Linked DNA regions of Homo sapiens: all the other regions are linked to region 2. Evidence: promoter capture Hi-C in 16 types of primary human blood cells and fetal thymus (Javierre and others, 2016). All regions are on one chromosome and are shown on one strand. Each heading gives the region's core, a stretch centred on a gene start or on the middle of the fragment in contact. The rest is flanking DNA. Distances are from core to core; before and after follow the strand shown.

Region 1 (3,060 bases), core at 374-2,873, 110 kb before region 2:
GCAACAGAGCGAGACTCCATCTCAAAAAAAATAAAAATAAAATGCAGATTATGATTTACTAGGTAAGGGATGTGTCCCTCAGTTCTGCATTTCTAACAGACCTCAGGTGGTACAAGTGCTGCCCATTTGAGGGCCATGCTGAATGGCAAGGTTCAAAGGGAAACTGCCTTGCCTTCCCTTTCTAGTGGTTGCTCTCAGCTGCTGATATAGGCTATCAGAATAATCTTTGAAGCTTTTTCCAGCTACAGCTTTATTGATGTATGCTTGATAAATAAAAATTGTATATATTTAAGGTCGACCATGTGATATTGTCTCTCTTAGAAGAGTTCACATATACGATACAATATTATTAGCTCTAGTTACCATGATGTACATTAGATCTCCAGGATTTTTTCATTTTGCATAACTGAACCTTTGTACCCTTTGACCAACATCTCCCCATTTCCCCTACCCCCTGGCAACCACCCTTCTACTCTCTACTTTTATGAGTTTTAACTTTTTAAGCTTGCACATATAAGTTGAACCATGCAGTATTTGTCTTTCCATGTCTGGCATATTTTACTTAACAGAATCAGGTTTATTCATGTTGATTTCCTTCTTTTTAAGGCTGAATAATATTCGTGTGTGTGTGTGTGTGTGTGTGTGTGTGTATGTATATATATCACATATTCTTTATCCATTCACCTGTTTTGTTTGTTTATTTTGAGACAATCACCCTGTTGCCCAGGCTGCAGTGCTGTGGCATGATCTTGGCTCACTGCAGCCTCAAACTCCCTGGGCTCAGATGATCTTCCCACCTCAGCCTCCTGAGTAGCTGGGACTACAGGCACATACCAGCACACCCAGCTAATTTTTGTATTTTCAGTAGAGATGGGGTTTCGCCATGTTGGCCAGGCTTGTCTCGAACTCTTGATCTCAAGTGATCCACCCACCTCGACCTTCCACAGTGCTGGGATTACAGGCGTGAGCCACTTCGTCCAGCCAACCACCATACCTGGCCCCAACCTTTGTCTTTTAGGTGTTTTCCTATAGTGTGAGGATGTAGATGTCGCTCTATTCAGCCTTTTAACACATCTTTCCATGTCCATTTTCTTGTTTTTTTTTTTTTTGAAGCTATTTACTGAAATAGACTCTAAATTTACTAAAGCCTGAAGTCCCACTGCTCGTCTTAGTTCAAGAGCTAAGACTTGAAGCAGTGGAAGGGAATAATTCACTTCTGTTGCCTCAGTAACAGGCTCTCTATAATCAGGGTTGGTTTGATTATGGTCTAGGATTAATATCCCCGGGGTTGTGCTGGCCTTGATATATAAATATATAAACAGCAAAATTTACTAGAAGATTCATTCATCAATGCTTTTATGAGGCTAGAAGTTCAGTTTAAAAGGCAAATCAGGCTTGGCTCAGTGGGTCACACCTGTAATCCCAACACTTTGGGAGGCTGAGGTGGGCAGATCACCTGAGGTCAGGAGTTCAAGACCAGCCTGGCCAACATGGCGAAACCCCATCTCTACTAAAAATAGAAAAATTAGCCAGGTGTGGTGGCAGTTGCCTGTAATCCCAGCTGCTAGGGAGGCTGAGGCAGGAGAATCGCTTGAACCTGGGAGGAGGAGGTTGCAGTGAACCACGATTGTGCCACTGCACTCCAGCTTGGGTGACGAGCAAGACAGTGTCTAAAAAAAAAAAAAAAAAAAAGAAAAAAAAAAAAAGAGTGCCTGTGCAGGAAGCCTACCTTTTTGCTAAAATTATAATCTGTGTTTTGGGTGTCTCTGTAAACTGTCTTGGTATTGTCTAGTTACTTTGTTGTTCTGATTGCAACGTTCTGTGATTGGATTAGCTGCAAAAGGTATAGCAAGCCTCTAAGGACCATCATCTTGCTATCATTTTATACCTTCTTTCTTGAAGTCCTTTTTATCCAAAACGCCCCCTACCCTTCTGCCATTAGTTCAGTCCTACGATATAGCAATACCACTAAGTATGAACTTGAAGCTCACTTTATTTTATGCTTCTCTTTGATTATCACAGCTCTTAAGGAACCACTTTGAGACAGAAATGGTAAAAAATTAAAAAATCAAAATTAAACCAAATATAAAACACAATGAAGATGCATATGTCAATGAGCTTGTCTACTTTGTTGACCAGCTTCGCTTCACATGTACCCTAGCCAGAGACCTCTGCCAAGTTCTTGGCACTCACTCCATCTAAGAATAGGCTGTCACATACGCTGCACCAGATATTCCAAACTACAGCAACCTGATGTGCTAAAATGCCCCACCAAGTATAAGAGTTACATATGAAAATATTGCAGTATAAGAACATTTGACCACAGAAAACTAATTAACACAAACATTTCCCAAATGTAGAAATGATTAGTCTTTTTCAATAGAGAAGTTATTTTAGAACCGAATCAACTATTTTATGCTGTTTCTTATAAATAGGCAGCTGTGTTGAGTTTTTGATACTAGTTCTTCTACAAGTGGACTTTTTGTAGCATAATCAGAGATAACAAAAGAGGAAATAAATGTTCATTTGGACATAACTATAAGAAGAATTGCAATTTCTAAGAATGGAGAGGCAGTCTCTCTATTGTATCTTTTGGAGTCTCTTCATTCTTAAAAGTTGTAATTCCTCTTGATGATGTCAAGAACATTCTCTGCCATAGAAAATTACCTTGTCTTTTGTTTTACTCTGATGCTTAGGCCTCCCATAACAGTGATGCATGCTCTGTTGGGAGAAGGAAGCTTAGGCTGTAAATTTAAGCATTTTAATCAGTAAAGGTTTGCTCTGGGGAAACACATTCGTTTCAGTGAATGTTATTCACTGACAAAAAAAGTAGGTATTTTCATAGCTGTGAAAGATATCTGGTTGATGACTGAAAAACTATTTTGGTTTGTGGAATTTTTTTTTTTTTTTTTTTTAATGAAACCTACAGGAATTTACAGGAATAAGATTAGGTTCCAAACTGAAATTGAGAGTGATTATAATCTTCAGATTGCCCTGGATTTTCACACATTGGCAGTAAACTCATTTACAGATTAACTTCTTGTACTCTTGGGGTTACTC
Region 2 (2,813 bases), core at 50-2,549:
TCCACACTCTGACAGCAGTGAGGGGTTGATTCTTTGAACCCTTAAGATGCTGTCACAGCATGATATACCTGCTCCCACTGGTAATGGGGCTGCGTGGAGGTGGGACGGGACTGGTGGTCTGGGTATTCTCCCTTATCAGGTCTTTGGCCCAGCAATCCCAGCTTAACTGAAGTAGTATAGCCCCATTCTCTGCCCCCCTCCCTGCCCATGCGGTAATGAGCCTCAGTGTAGAGTTGGCAAGTGCTGGGATATTTTGAGCATTGAATGAAGGTAAAGACTAGAGTGAAAGCAGCTCCAATTCGTTAACTCCACTCACTGGAACAGTTCCCCAGGGCTCCCTATGCCCTCATTCTCCTGGAGACTCACTACTTTCTACAAAAACGTCCCCAAACTCCAGGCTGCACCCAGCTATAGCCAAGGCCAAAAAGATTTCATCTCCATTTTCCCCGTTCAGCGACAAAATTCCCTCTGGGACCCTCCCTTCTTCCTCTGCAATACTCCGCCTTCACCACTTTCTTTGTCCATTCCTTCCCTCCCACCTCCAGAAGGGGCCTGGTGGGAAAAGCATCAGCAGAAGCCGGGAGCCCATTCTAAGTTCTCCCAACAGCCCAACTGCGCCCTGTAGGTGAGTAATTCCTTATCTGGGCCCCAATTCCCTCTCAAAAGGACCCTAGCGGTAGAGCCTAGATCACGCGGCAGCTCCCGTTGCTCTTTCAAACTTCGACTATCCACCAGCTGGGGGCCAAGAGAGCCTGAGGAGAATCAGGGGCCTAGACCCGGAAGGCACGGCCCAGGGGATGACCCCGAGCTCTTGGAGCTGCCCTCCTCGCTGCTCCCACGCAAATGCTAGGAGAGCCGAAAGGGGCAGCGGCACCCTCCTCTTCCTTACCCGAGTGGGGGATGCCCACGCTAGGGCAGCCGGGCTGCAAGACGGCCGAGCGGGACAGCGAGTTCTCGTACTCATCCAGGATGGACGCCATGGTGCCCGGCCTCTGGGCTCTTTGTCCGGGGCCTGGGGATTACAAAAGGGCTACCCCCCCGGGGTCCCCGTCGCCCCAGAATGGAAGCTGTAACTCCCCAGCCTCTGACAGATCCTGGGAACCTGCAGCCGTCGCCTCCTCTTTAAAATCCTGAGGATCCTCTTGCTCTTGCCTTATGCAGCGAGATAATCGGGCAGCCCTCGTCCTTGAATCTGGCGCAGTCTTGCACCTTACTCCCCGCCCCCGCTACAAAAAAATCACAGGCTCCCTTCAGCCGGTGCCAGGTGATCCCAACCTCGCCCCGGCAGCTCAGCTGACTCCCGCCCCCGTGACGCGGGCCTAAAACGTAACTTCCGGGTTCTCAGAGCCCCGCGTACGCTGGCGCACAACGTCGCCGGGCCAGCCAGCAGAAGGCGAGACGAGGGCTGAGGGCTGGGCGCGTGGCGAGTGCTGCTGAACACAAGCCCCGCCCCCAGGATCCTGCTGCAGTTCCGAGCTTTGACACCAGGAGGCAATCCCGGCTTTCTCAGCCGGCCTTCCCCACCCGCCCCGCGCCGCCCAGTTTTGGCTTTCGTGCCCAAGCTCCGCTCCCTCGGGTGGTCTGTCCAGCCTCCCTGACCAGCTCCCGCTCCCGCCTCTCTAAACAGCCTCGGGGAACCTCCCGTTCCTCAATCCAATCGCTGTCTCTATCCCACCGTCACAGGGCACACGCAGACAACTCCTGGCCACTCTTCTCCCTTACCCAAAGGCCCCCCAGCTTCCAGGAGACCGCAGAGCTGGTGGCCAGGCTAGTGGGAAGCCCTGTGCCAGGAACCGCCCTGACCTGCCCCACAGTGGCTCCTTGGCTCAGGGTTGCTGGGCCGCTTCCATTCACTCATTCACCAAAATGTGGTTGAGCACTTACTCTGTGCCAGGCCTTGGGCTGGGCGCTGGGGTCACAGAGATGAGGACAGCCCCTCCCCGCCCTGGAAAAGGTCGTAAGCCAGCAGGGGCGCTGGACCCGTAAATAGACCATTCATACTAGAAAAGCAAGTGATGGATTATCCATCAGGCACTTACTCCACGAATGAGCGTCCACTCTGTGCCAAGCACTGTTCCAGGCTCTGGGGACGTGGCAGAGAACAAGACGGAAAATGTCTCTTGCCTGGTGGGGCGTACCCAGCGACGTGGCCACGGCACTGAGAGCGTGAAGGAGCAGGGAACAAATACCTGCCAAGCCTAGCAAGAACGAGGGACAAGTGGGAGCAAGCGTGAAGGCGGGGGCCGCCCAGCCTGAGGTGGAGAGGGGAGTCCTCAGCCAGGGACCTGCGAGGGCTGGGGCGCGACTGTGGTTGGGTTTTCCTCTCTCACCTGCTTAGGCGACCCAGATGGAGTCTGTTCCCTTCTGGGGCCCTTGGATTCTACCTTGCTAAAGTGGAAGGCTCTGGACTAGGGTCGCCACCGTCCTGGCTCTGCTGGGCGGCCCCCGCCTAACAACTAAGAGCATCCCTTTGCTCTCAGAAGTTTCCAGGTTTGCACCATACCTTATGTGGTTGGGTTACTCTTGCTCAACTTCCTGGCCACGTGCGGAGAACTGTGACTCTCACCAGCCCCACTGAGGGCTATCTGGGCTCTCTGGCTTGGAGGGGCACTAGTCCTGGGGCAGGTGACAAGTATGCTGTCCAGGCTCATTTCCCTTCGCACCAGGGTCCTGCTTCTCTTGACCAAGCCTGCAGCCTCAATGCAGCCTTCCCACCTGAGGTTGCCAGGTCCCAGGAGGGAAGTGCAGGAGCAGGACAATAGGCAGGAGGCTTCCTCTAAGAAAAGTGATCCCAGACAGGGAGCTGCCCTGCT
Region 3 (2,859 bases), core at 353-2,852, 96 kb before region 2:
GCTCACGCCTGTAATCCCAGCACTTTGGGAAGCCCAGGCTGGCGGATCACGAGGTCAGGAGATCGAGACCATCCTGGCTAACACAGTGAAACCCCGTCTCTCTAAAAATGCAAAAAATGAGCCGGGCATGGTGGCGGACGCCTGTAGTCCCTCCCAGCTACTCGGGAGGCTGAGGCAGGAGAATGGCGTGAACTCGGGAGGCGGAGCTTGCAGTGAGTCAAGATCTTGCCACTGCACTCCAGCCTGGGCGACAGAGCAAGACTCCATCTCAAAAAAAAAAAGAAAGAAATTTTCCTGTTTTAAATCTCATTCTCTCATCCCCTGAAACTCCTTCTCACTGACCTATACAGCCAGGCCCCTCTACCGCATGGTAACTCTCACCTCTCTTCCCTTGTGCCTGCCCTGCTTGGTGTTTACAATGTCATGAAGGCATTGACTACTATTTCTCCTTAGTCACTGCTGGGCCACGCTTTGTGGATTGACTTGCCTTAATCTTTCCTAGTTAAATCAGTTGTTCTAATCCTTTAATTGTTACTTGTTTTTTTCTGGAATGTCTCACTGAGCTCCATAAACCCAACTGCCAAATATAGGCATCATCCCTGTTCCACAGTGGTGCATTGTCTCCCTCACCACTCCCTCCAGTTCACATCACGGTTAATTCAGTGTTAGATTAGATGGTAACCATACATCTGCCTTGGTTTTTAGTTCTCTCACTCTTGTTCTTAACCTATTAGTTTGTACGTATTTCATATTTTCCGCTGCACAGGTATTTTTCTAAACAATCCTATTTTTTTCTGTTTTCCTCCCAAATTCCCCACCTCTTGGAATCCATGTAAAGGATAAATATCTTCCATATTTGGAGATTTTTGAAGTTAAGATTGTAAACCCATCTCCTTAGGCTTTAATCTTACTGTTCATGAGCTCAAAAGAACACAAGTTGAATCAGGTTTGGTTGCCACTGGGTCTTCTAGGAAAAAATGTAAATGTTAAGACAGTACTTATGAAACAATTCATTATATGGCTCTCCCTCCACCCACCTCCACCACCCACATCCCCACATTATGAATTCGTGCTGAACCATAGCCTCAAGCTTAGACAGCTCAAGATACTGTCTTTTGGGTGTGACATCAGCCCTCAAATTCCACATTTGTGGTCATTTTAAATACATTGGGCATCATGGGACAACATGAACCAGAAAAAAAGATGAAAAAAATACACTGGGCAAGTAATGTTATCCTCTAGTCCAACTGAAGGTCTTCACTTTTGTTAGCTCTGTTCTCCCTGAAAGTTCAAACTTGGTCTTCTAGTTCAAACTTGGTCTTCTGGAAGTTCTTATGTCCTCTTTGAAACCAAAATGTCGTGTGGTCAGGTTTGTTAAGTTCCTCTAGAGGCAACAAGCATTGTGCACTTCTAAATCTTAGGTTTGCAGGACACTAGATTAACAATAAGCATTCACGGTGACTTTCTTTCGCCAGCAGTTTACATTGTTCTTCCCAAGGATTCTAACCTGTGCTAAAAATGGAGGGAAACCATTTTGGCCAGGTGCAGTGGCTCATACCTGTAATTCCAACACTTTGGGAAGCTGAGATGGTAGGATTGCTTGAGCCCAGGAGTTTGGGGCTGCAGTGAGCCAAGATCATGCCACTGTACTTCAGCCTGGATGACAGAGCAAGACCCTGTCTCAGAAAAGAAAAAGAGAGACAGAAACAGTTTCAAGAAAGATGACTCACTCTTTCAAATAGTACACATGAAATAATTGACACCATAGAAGTTAGTGATTAAGTGGGGACTTGGACCAAGGTAGGTAGGCAATGCCAAGTTTTGTTACTACTGTAGGTTGTGGAGGGAGACTGTTAGGTCACTCCCCACCCCAGCCCCTTGCTGTGATTTCAGACCAGTCTCTTCCTTGCTTGTAAGATGGAGGATAGACATAGGATTTTTTTTTTTTTAGAATTCAGTGAGAGATATATGCATACTAGTCCTGGGCTCATAAGTACCCAACAAATTTTAGCCATTATTATTTCTAATAGGAATCCAGGGGGAATAGGGATAAGAAAAGAAAAGGAGACATTATTATAGGCAAGAGAAAACAGGGCGAGCTTCCTAGAAGCTTGAACTAAACCTGAAAGGACCAATAAAGAAGAGTTTTGGGATTCTAGTTCAGAGAAACAGCTTGAGCAATAAGAGGTGTACACAAATGTATTATAAGCCAGGACCACTGAAGAGACCCATCTGACTAAAGGGAAAGGGCATATTTGTGTTAGGAAAGAATAGAAAATAAAGTTGGCTCTCTATAGCAGGGCCTGATTATTTAGGAGAGTTTGGACATGGTGGCAGGCACCTGTGATCTCAGCTACTCAGGAGGCTGAGGCAGGTGTGTAACTGGCAGAGAGCTGGAGTGGCCCACAGTGGTAGCCAAGGTAGACTGAAGAGGAAAGAGACCGAGATCTAAGAGTCCTGCTGATGTAACAGAGTGCTAATCCAGATGTAGGTTGTGAGGGCCTGGTCTAGAATGGAAACAGTGGGATTGTTACAGTAGAAAGGACAGGTTCATTTTTGAAGCAGTGGCTGGATTTGGTGACTTTTGATTGGATATAAAGGACAACACATGAGATATGAGGGCCATTTTGAACTGGTCCGCCATGTTGGATGGTAGCCTCAAGGGTTGAGGACTGAGGAGTTTGTTTTAGGATCACTCACTTAGTGGTGATATATTTTGTTGTTAATTTGTTTGTTGCTCAGCAAACTAGAAGTCACTTCCAGAGAACCCTTTAAACATTCCATCCTGGGAATTCATGGGCTAGTAAATGACTGTTGATGAGAGCCTGAGAATTCTAGGGAAAGCCATGCCTGTTTCCA

Evidence for each region. The method cuts DNA at HindIII sites, captures the fragments that hold promoters and counts their contacts. A CHiCAGO score of 5 or more calls a contact.
Region 1: a contact is called between a fragment that was not itself captured here and the fragment with the promoter of VPS18 in region 2, in 12 of 17 cell types (megakaryocytes, monocytes, erythroblasts and 9 more). The highest score is 11.0, in megakaryocytes.
Region 3: a contact is called between a fragment that was not itself captured here and the fragment with the promoter of VPS18 in region 2, in 4 of 17 cell types (M1 macrophages, M2 macrophages, M0 macrophages and 1 more). The highest score is 7.3, in M1 macrophages.

Annotation. Positions count from the first base shown.
Region 1 is chr15:41,005,815-41,008,874 of GRCh38, reverse strand. The region is part of intron 27 of INO80 (INO80 complex ATPase subunit); the gene reads left to right. Among named protein-coding and RNA genes, the nearest start is that of INO80-AS1, 9.5 kb to the left of the region's middle. The HindIII fragment of the contact is 2,234 bases long and covers 507-2,740 here.
Region 2 is chr15:40,892,936-40,895,748 of GRCh38, reverse strand. It overlaps VPS18 (VPS18 core subunit of CORVET and HOPS complexes), which reads right to left and starts at 1,299. Exons shown (of 5, transcript NM_020857.3): 1 at 890-1,299. The coding sequence starts at 980. RefSeq lists an enhancer at 484-573 and a silencer at 1,414-1,583. The HindIII fragment of the contact is 16,460 bases long and covers 1-2,813 here.
Region 3 is chr15:40,989,203-40,992,061 of GRCh38, reverse strand. The region is part of intron 29 of INO80 (INO80 complex ATPase subunit); the gene reads left to right. Among named protein-coding and RNA genes, the nearest start is that of INO80-AS1, 26 kb to the left of the region's middle. The HindIII fragment of the contact is 1,020 bases long and covers 1,093-2,112 here.